Linked DNA regions of Homo sapiens: all the other regions are linked to region 1. Evidence: promoter capture Hi-C in 16 types of primary human blood cells and fetal thymus (Javierre and others, 2016). All regions are on one chromosome and are shown on one strand. The core of a region is centred on a gene start or on the middle of the fragment in contact, and the rest is flanking DNA. Distances in the headings are between cores, read along the strand shown.

What was found. Contacts are between HindIII fragments. The CHiCAGO score rates a contact against its expected background, and 5 or more counts as called.
Region 2: a contact is called between a fragment that was not itself captured here and the fragment with the promoter of ALPK3 in region 1, in 6 of 17 cell types (M2 macrophages, M1 macrophages, non-activated CD4 T cells and 3 more). The highest score is 8.0, in M2 macrophages.
Region 3: a contact is called between a fragment that was not itself captured here and the fragment with the promoter of ALPK3 in region 1, in 7 of 17 cell types (endothelial precursors, M0 macrophages, M2 macrophages and 4 more). The highest score is 12.0, in endothelial precursors.

Annotation. Positions count from the first base shown.
Region 1 is chr15:84,815,788-84,818,751 of GRCh38, reverse strand. It overlaps ALPK3 (alpha kinase 3), which reads right to left and starts at 1,396. Exons shown (of 14, transcript NM_020778.5): 1 at 1,157-1,396. The coding sequence starts at 1,299. RefSeq lists an enhancer at 1,768-2,298. The HindIII fragment of the contact is 9,413 bases long and covers 442-2,964 here.
Region 2 is chr15:84,575,281-84,578,244 of GRCh38, reverse strand. LINC00933 (long intergenic non-protein coding RNA 933) reads right to left here. Exons shown (of 4, transcript NR_038274.1): 4 at 1-297. Among named protein-coding and RNA genes, the nearest start is that of LINC00933, 6.1 kb to the right of the region's middle. The HindIII fragment of the contact is 1,109 bases long and covers 932-2,040 here.
Region 3 is chr15:84,635,427-84,638,390 of GRCh38, reverse strand. It overlaps the pseudogene SCAND2P and the pseudogene EGLN1P1. Among named protein-coding and RNA genes, the nearest start is that of WDR73, 17 kb to the left of the region's middle. The HindIII fragment of the contact is 2,378 bases long and covers 304-2,681 here.

The DNA.
Region 1 (2,964 bases), core at 147-2,646:
GACACCATTTGACGAGTTTTATGCAGAAACCGGTTCCGGTTACATTTGAACTTTCCCAACTCCAAGGTCAGTAGGACTCAGCCAATTCACGAGGAAGTGCCCAGGACTTTTCCTGAATGTCCTCGATGCCTGTTTTTATGCTGTTTTAGGAATGGAGAACAAGAGGTCTCTGGACAGCCTCTTGGAGGAATGGCCGTTTTCTGCATAATACACAAGTCAAGTTCTCAGGCTATGAAACAACCACTATCTCAACACATTTCCCTTTGGAAAACAGACTCCAGAAGTGAAGGGAAACTGAGCTGCCCACAGGGGGCAGGAAGTGTCTGTCTCCATGGCAATGCGCCTGTCCACGTGTGCCTGTGTGCCTTTGATTTCCTGGATGCCTGTCTATTGTCTTTGTGTCTTTATATCTGTGGGTGGCCTAGCTGCTAAAACAAAGCTTCCACACCTCTTGAACTCTTGGAAGACCAGTGAAGGGCTCATCAGTTCCACACCTCCCTTGGCATTTCACTTCCCCAAACTGGACAGGGCACTTGGCTCCCTCAGAGCTGCAAGTCCTTAATTCCCAACATCTCCAGACAGTACCTCATCCCACCCCCTATCTCACCAGCCCCCACTCAGGTCCTGGGGAGGACCCAAGTCCTCGGCCCAGTAGAGGAACCTTATTTACAAAGGTTTATTTCTTCCTGGAGAACCTCCCCACCCTGAGCTAAGCAGCTCCTACTCTGGGCAGCCCCCCAGCACCCTCTCCCTGTCCCCACCAGTGCTCTCCCCCTCCCTTCCTGCCAGGGAGGAATTTCAGCCACTCTGGCTTTCCTTATCGCTAGCTGTGGAATCCCAAGCCAGGGAGTAGCAGGGTAGGGGGCAGGGGAGATAAGGAAAGCCTTCAGACCCCATGAAATCACTCCAAAGTGGAGCCTTTGTCCTCTCTTGAGCCTCGAATTGCCAGAGGCCTGAGGCGCATGGATCAGGAGGGGTCACAAGGGGCTATGAAAGCCATTCCAGCCCGGCCATGTCCCCAGGCCCTGGGCCTTGGGGCTGAGAGGGCTCGAGGGCGCAGGCCCAGCCCAGGCCTCCAGGGGCCAGGCCGCCCTCACAGGGACTGATCCCAGGGCATCGCCGGCCCGACGCCGCCCTGCCCCTTGGTGCCACTTACCTGGTCTCGGGCCGCACGCTGAGCAGGTAGCTCCGGCTGGCTGGGCTGGGGATCCACACGGGGCCGTCGTCCTCACCGTCGCCCCCCGCCCCCGACCGCCCACCCGCGCCCCAGCCCCGGCTGGGGGCCCTCCGCGACCCCATGGCACCGCCCTCCCCGACCGCCGGCCCCGCACTCGCCGCTGCCTCGCCTGTCCTCCAGGCCCCGGCCCCCGGGCCCCTGCCCGCCGCCGCCGCTCCCGCCCGCGGCTGACGCGCGCCCCTATTTATAGCCGGTGGCCGGGCCGTCGTCACCTGCTGCTGTCCCTCCCCTGGCCTGGCCCGACCCGGGCAGCGCGGCTTGGAGACGCCGGGGGGCGCCGGGGCCCATGTGCCCGCCCCAGGGCCGGCTCCGAGTCCGCTCCCTTGGCGGCCCTGGTGTCTGCAGTAGCGCCGCGTCTGGAGAGGCCCGGGAGGCCTCGGGAGGAAGGCGCAGCGGGTGTCCTGGTCATGGAGGACAGGCCCCTTCGTGGAGCTCCCGGGACCCGGCTCCCGGCCGGCCTGCTCATGTCCCGTGTGGCATATGAGGGGTCCACGAGGCCTGGCCGGGGCCAGGGGAGCCAGGTCAACCGCTGGCCAGCTTGGGCTAGACCGCGGGAGACCAGGGAGCCAAAGAACCAGCCCTCTTCCTGGCACCAGCCGTGACTGACCCTCGCCTTGCCTCGCCAGTGGCTGTTGGCCCAGCACATAGACAAGCCAAGCCACCTCCATTAGTGACCTGAGTCCCTGGGAGGCCGGAACCCCGTGGGATCTCTCTCCTGTCTCCCCCAACACCCCCAGTAACTAGCATAGATTAGGGGCTCAATTAACACTTCTAGATCACTCCTTCGGCCTCCATTTCTCAGCACCAGAGGGGGAAATGGGCTGAGTCCTGATACCCAGAAAAATAATCAAATCATGCAACAATTTCCAAGAACTAGTGCCAAGCACTGCCGAAACCTGGTCTAAATATTGGAAGTCCCCACAGACTTTTTTTTTTTTTGAGACAGAGTCTGGCTCTGTCGCCCAGGCTGGAGTGCAGTGGCGCTATCTCGGCTCACCGCAACCTCCGCCTCCCGGGTTCATGCCATTCTCCTGCCTCAGCCTCCCGAGTAGCTGGGACTACAGGCGCCCCACACCACGCCCGGCTAATTTTTTTCTTTGTATTTTTTAGTAGAGACGGGGTTTCACCGTGTTAGCCAGGATGGTCTCGATCTCCTGACCTCGTGATTCGCCCGCCTGGGCCTCCCAAAGTGCTGGGATTACAGGCGTGAGCCACCGCGCCCGGCCGGAAGTGCCCACAGACTTTTTTATCCATCCTTCTTTCTCCTATTTTCCTGAGAGCATCCAGAAAGTACCTGAAGCTAAATGGCTGTAATTGTTAGAAAGTGGGAGCAAAGGAGTCCAACCCTTCTGTTTTCGAAGCTGCACCCATCCCTACTCCTTTTGGAAATGGCTTTCCCCTACTCCGTGTGGTTCCAATGGCAACTACCTTGTTCCCACATGATCCCACTCCTGGCCTCAGCTGACTGCCATCAAACTCAAGCCAGGCTATTCACGGTACCCAATCTCCCTGACTATAGACCCTGGCTGTGCCAATAAAGTTCTTCTCTAAAACATTTTTAACTGGAATTGGGAAAGAAAACCAGACCCTCTGTGGTGGAAAACTGAGCTGTGAGGCCACAGCTGTCAGCAGCCATGTTTCCTGCCCTGTAGAGTAAGCCAGTTTACAGTGAGGAATAAGGAAGCTAGCACAGAGAGAAGCAGAGGCAAAGGACACAGGGTCCTGGT
Region 2 (2,964 bases), core at 237-2,736, 240 kb after region 1:
TCTAAAAAGTTCCAGGAGTAGAATCACGGGGTCAAAGTACCCTGGCTATAACTTCCGATTCAGAGAATCCTAACAACTTACATTGTCACCAGCAAGGTCTTTGACTACATGAGCAACTCTCACCTTAAAGCATTTCTCATCTGACATTAGCTGCTTGGCTTTCTGTGGATACGTTGACTCCAGGAGGCTTCTTGAGTTCTGTGTGTTCGGCTGGCCTCCGGTGGCCCCATTATTATTTTCTGCCAGGTAAAGGTCAGTCACCTGTACACAGATCTCATCACTCATGATATGCTGCAGCTGGAATCAAACAACGGCAAGCTGTCAGTGAACACAGAAAACATTTCTCCATTACACAGTCAATGTTCCTTTGACTGATCCAGTCACTCAACTCAAAAGAGGTTTTGGTTTTATTTGGCTGGCAATTTTAGAAAATTCACCAGACAAACCACTGTATCATTTTCTTGGAGAATAATCAAGCTAAGTTTTTCAACCATATCAGTGGTTCATTGTAAAACTTTCATATCTATTTAAAATAAAAACCATAGAGAACTCAGGTTAATGTACTGTTTATTTAAAATTCTAAGGATCTTTAAATAATTTTCCATAGGTCATATTTTATTGCATTTTAAAATCATTTAGAATTTGCTTTCATACATATTCTCTCTCATTTGATCCTCACAACTTCCCTGGGAAGCAGGTTGGAGAGAGAGTTGGGACCTGTTAGGAGACAAATTTACACAATGCATAAGAAAGCTCACTGTGAGTTGGGGTGAGGAGGGGAGCCTTGGAGAATCATGAAAGCAATATCTATATCTTTATTCCCAGCCCAACTACAAAGCCTGAAACTCATTAGGTATTTAAGAAATAGCTGCTGAATTATTGCCTAGGGGTGCTCAGCTGAAGAAGGAGGGTTGGGACTAACAGTCAAGCTTCCTGACTCCTAGCCCAATACTTTTCCAAACACACCACCTATTTTTCTATATCTGATAGAAAGTACAGTGCTTAAGTTGTACATGATGTTATCTCACTTTTAATACAGGCCAATCATGATTGACTATATGTGGCTTTCATGACAATCTTAGGAAACTAATGACTAGAAAGTTGAACCTTTCAGAGTTCCCATTCTCATGTTATATGCTATTTCTATTTTGAAATAAAAATCCTTCCAAATGAAACTTTATCCATCAAAATGTCAGAGAAGTGAAAAATAGATGCAAGAAGAAAGCAAAACGTTAATTTCAATATCAGCCGGGTGTGGTAGCTCATGCCTGTAATCCCAGCACTTCGGGAGGCTGAGGTGGGCAGATCACAAGGTCAGGAGATCAAGACTACCTTGGCTAACACGGTGAAACCCCGACTCTACTAAAAATACAAAAAATTAGCTGGGCGTGGTGGCAGGCACCTGTAGTCCCAGCTACTCAGAAGGCTGAGGCAAAAGAATGGCATGAACCTGGAAGGCGGAGCTTGCAGTGAGCTGAGATCCCACCACTGCATTCCAGCCTGGGCAACAGAGTGAGACTCCATCTCAAAAAAAAAAATTGGGGGCCTGGTAGTTAAAAATCAACCCCTGACCTAACTGCTTGTGTTATCTATAGATTCCAGACATTGTATGGAAAAGCATTGTGAAAATCCCTGTCCTGTTCTGTTCCATTCCAATTACTGGTGCATGCAGCCCCCAGTCACATACCCCCTGCTTCCTCAATTGATCACGACCCTCTCACACAGACCCCCTTAGAGTTGTAAGCCCTTAAAAGGGACAGTCATTGCTTACTTGGGGAGCTTGGCTTTTGAGATGCAAGTCTGCAGAAGCTCCCAGCTGAATAAAGCTCCTTCCTTTTTTAACCTGGTGTCTGAGGAGTTTTGTCTGCAGCTCATCCTGCTACAATATGTCATGGACCAACCTCAAAAACATTAGCTAAGTAAAAAAGCCAGACACGAGACCACATATTGTATAATTCCATTGATTTGAAATGTCCAAAAAAGGCAAATTTATAGAGAAAGAAATGGGCTGATTTATCTCAAGAGGCAGGGATTCAAGCTTTCTAGACTATATGTGATACATAGATGAGAAAAAATAAGGAAAAGAAAATAAATTTAAATAGAAATAAATGAAAATAATACTTCTCCCTGATTATAAAGAAAATCATATTCTTTTTCTAATAATTTGGAAGACAAAATATGAAGAAAAGTCTTTAATTTTGCCACTCAAAACATTCTGCCTTGTTGCTTTTTATACTTTTTTATGCATATACACATTTTAAAAAGTAGAATCATTATATAGTCTTTTGTCACTATGTTTTAGGCATATTTCTATGGCAGTAAATCTATCCTTAGCATCATCATTTTTAATAGCTCGATGTATATTAACTTAATCATTGCCACCCCAGAAATAAATTTTCTTATATGTATATTTTTAGTGGATTAGAGCAAGCATTTTTGGATTTAATTCATAGAAGTAGAATTTCTGGAGGAAAATAACGTACAACAGTTTTAGGGTTTTTAATATAAATTTTCAAATTATCCTGCAGAAAAATTGGTTCAGTTTATACTCCCACCAACAGGGGCAGAGCTCCAGTTTCCCCCTCCCATTTGTCCTCTTCGCTGGTCTTTAAGCAGAAAATCTGATTGTTTTCATTACATTTATTTGGTTTCTAACGCTTTTGAATCTTTTTTTTTTTTTTTTTTTGAGATGGAGTCTTGCTCTGTCATCCAGGCTGGAGTGCAGTGGTGCAGTCTCAGCTCACTGCAATGTCTGCCTCTTGGGTTCAAGCTATTCTCTTGCCTCAGCCTCCAGAGTAGCTGGGATTACAGGTATCCACCACCACACCTGGCTAATGTTTGTATTTTTAGTAAAGACAGGGTTTCACCATGTTGGCCTGGCTGGTCTCACATTCCTGATCTTAGGTGATCCTCCTGCCTTGGCCTCCCTGAGTTTTGGGATTATAGGCATGAGCCACTGCACCC
Region 3 (2,964 bases), core at 243-2,742, 180 kb after region 1:
AGATATACACAGCCGAATCACCAGGTGTCACTAGCTCCTGAGGAAACAACACCCCTTCTCAAAACACATGGCCTCAGAACAAAATGCCTCTCTAATGCCTGAGTCAGGGCAAGTGACACAACAGAAGAAATGAAACAGTGATTATTTTGGCTTTTAAATGCAATCAAGCGGGCAGGAGGAGACAGAAAAGAAACAAGCTGACATTATGCACTGAGCCAGAAGCTTCTCAGACTTGCCCAGAGTTACACAGCAAGTCCAGGGTATGGCTGGGAATTCAACTCAAGGCTGTTGGACTCTGAAGCTTTTGGTTTTTGTTTTTTTTCCTCCACTACACAGTACTGCATGCCATGTGAGCAAGATCCCGACACAGAATGAAGTAACCAGTATCTTTAAGGCAAACAAGCAGATCAGTAGAATCTGATGATTTCAGGGTCAAAGAAAAGAATAATTTTAATGCAATCCCTCATTACCACAGCCATGGCACTGGCCTCATATGGGTAAGGAGATTTGGGCAACCTTTTGCAGGCTGATGAAATTTTGGAGCCTAAATTGTAAAGTTACTGGGCCTCCCTGCTGGGTAAAATTCTTTTGGAATTTCTGAGCGGCAAGAGAGTTGGTTGCAGGAGCCCCACTTGGGTAGTAAAAGGTGACCTGAGGGGGATTGGGGGCTAGGGGAGGGAGAGCATTAGGAGAAATACCTAATGTAGACGATGGGTTGGTGGGTGCAGCAAACCACCATGGCACGTGTGTACCTATGTAACAAACCTGCATGTTCTGCACATGTACCCCAGAACTTAAAGTATAATAAAAAGAGAAAATTTAAAAAAAAAGAAATATAATCTGTAAAGACAAATGACTTAATCGTTTTCCCAAAAGGAGAAAACTGAGCTGTGCCTCAAGAGTTATATTTCTATTAAAAAAAAAAGAGAGAGAGAAAAGGTGATCTATATAAGAGAAATGGCTGACTCACCTGGGAGCTGCTCACTATCTCCTGGCCACCCCTGCTCTTCTCTGCAGGAATTCCCAGAGCCACATCAGGCAGGGCTGGGGGAAGAAAAGGGAGGCATTAGAGTACATGGCTCTCAGCTCCTCTTGGGGACTAGCCCAACTGGGTTCAGACACAGAACAGCCTTTCCTCCCCCTCTTAGTATCTGCTTTGTCCTATCAAAGGAAGGTTGGTGAAAAACCAAAATGAAACATTTCTTTTTTTTTTTTTTTTTGAGACGGAGTCTCACTCTGTCGCCCAGGCTGGAGTGCAGTGGCACAATCTCAGCTCACTGCAAGCTCCGCCTCCCAGGTTCAGGCCATTCTCCTGCCTCAGCCTCCTGAGTAGCTGGGACTACAGGTGCCCACCACCACACCCGGCTAATTTTTTGTATTTTTAGTAGAGACGGGGTTTCACTGTGTTAGCCAGGATGGTCTCGATCTCCTGACCTCATGATCCGCCCGCCTCTGCCTCCCAAAGTGCTGGGATTACAGGCGTGAGCCACCATGCCCAGCCAAAATGAAACGTTTCTAAAATGAAAGTTTTAGGTTTTCCCCTCCATATCCATCTAGGTACTGACTGTCAGGGTTTTATGATTTTGTTTTTCAGGTTTTTTGTTTGCTTTTTGTTTTTTTGAGACAGGGCCTCGATCTGTCGCCCAGGCTGGAGTGCAGTGGCGTGACCTTGGCTTACCGCAGCCTTAACCTCCTGGGCTCAGGTGATCCTCCCACCTCAGCCTTCTGAGTAGCTGGGACTACAGGTGCCTGCCACCATGCCCGGCTAATTTTTTTTTTTTTTTTTTTTGTATTTTTAGAGGAGACGGAGTTTCACCATATTGCCCAGGCTCATCTCTGAACTCCTGGGCTCAAGCAATCCACCCACCTCAGCCTCCAAAGTACTGGAATTACAGGCATGAGCCACCATAACTGGCCTTGTTTTTCAGTTTTGATAACACACCTGAGTCATCTAAATTGGTCTGGGGACACTTAACTGTTTTAAGGATTACTGCACCTTAGTTTAACCCTACCCTTTTGCCCTTCCCACCAACCAGACCTAAAATCTGTCTCCAACTGTAACCTATTGGGACCGGTAATCTCTGACTCACATAAGGAAAGGTGCTACAGGCTCCCCTATGTTGTTTTACAAAACATGCCAACCGAGGTCCTTCTTCACTTTGGAGGTGCCCATTTAGGATCCCAGAAATTCATGCGGTCAGCCTGAGGTCAACACACCAATCTTCTAAGTAGAAGGGAGCTGTACCTTCTACCCCACTTTCTGCACTCACAGAGTACTTCTATGCCCTCCCCACAGAAGGGTACTTCCTTCCTCCCCACACTGCTGCTACTTTTTTTTTTTTTAAATCTGATTTTGCACTTTTTTTTTTTTCTAAGCTAAACATCTTTCAGTACAGGTAAGAAGACTGGCATCACATCTGGGAAGTGCCTTAACAGATATCTGAGGAGTTACTGCACATTAAGTCGGTAACAACACACTTCGGTTTCAAGGCGTATGTAATCTTCCCTTGATGCTCTTCAACAGAGACAAGGTTCCTGTCTGTAGATCAAATAAATCACAGTATTAGGAAAAAAAATAACAGCAAATTTGGAAGTACAATCAACTTAAGGAGAAGCAAAGGAAAAGACTTAGAAATGGGACATTATTGTCTACATCTAGAGGATACATGTATCTGAAAGCTTAAGAAAGCCCTTATCTTAGGAACTTGAAGCTGAGGATAATCTCAAGTTCACTTAGTGCCAGTCACTTTAGTTTTTAAAAAAATTTAACTTAAACCCCAGCCTAGGCAACATGGTGAAACCCAGTCTCTACTAAAAATACAAAAATTAGCCAGGCATGGTGGTATGTGCCTGTAGTCCCAGCTAGTTGTGAGGCTGAGGCGGGAGGATTGCTTGAACCTGGGAGACAGTGGGGTTGCAGTGAGCTGAGAATGCACCACTGCACTCCAGCCTGGGTAACAGAGC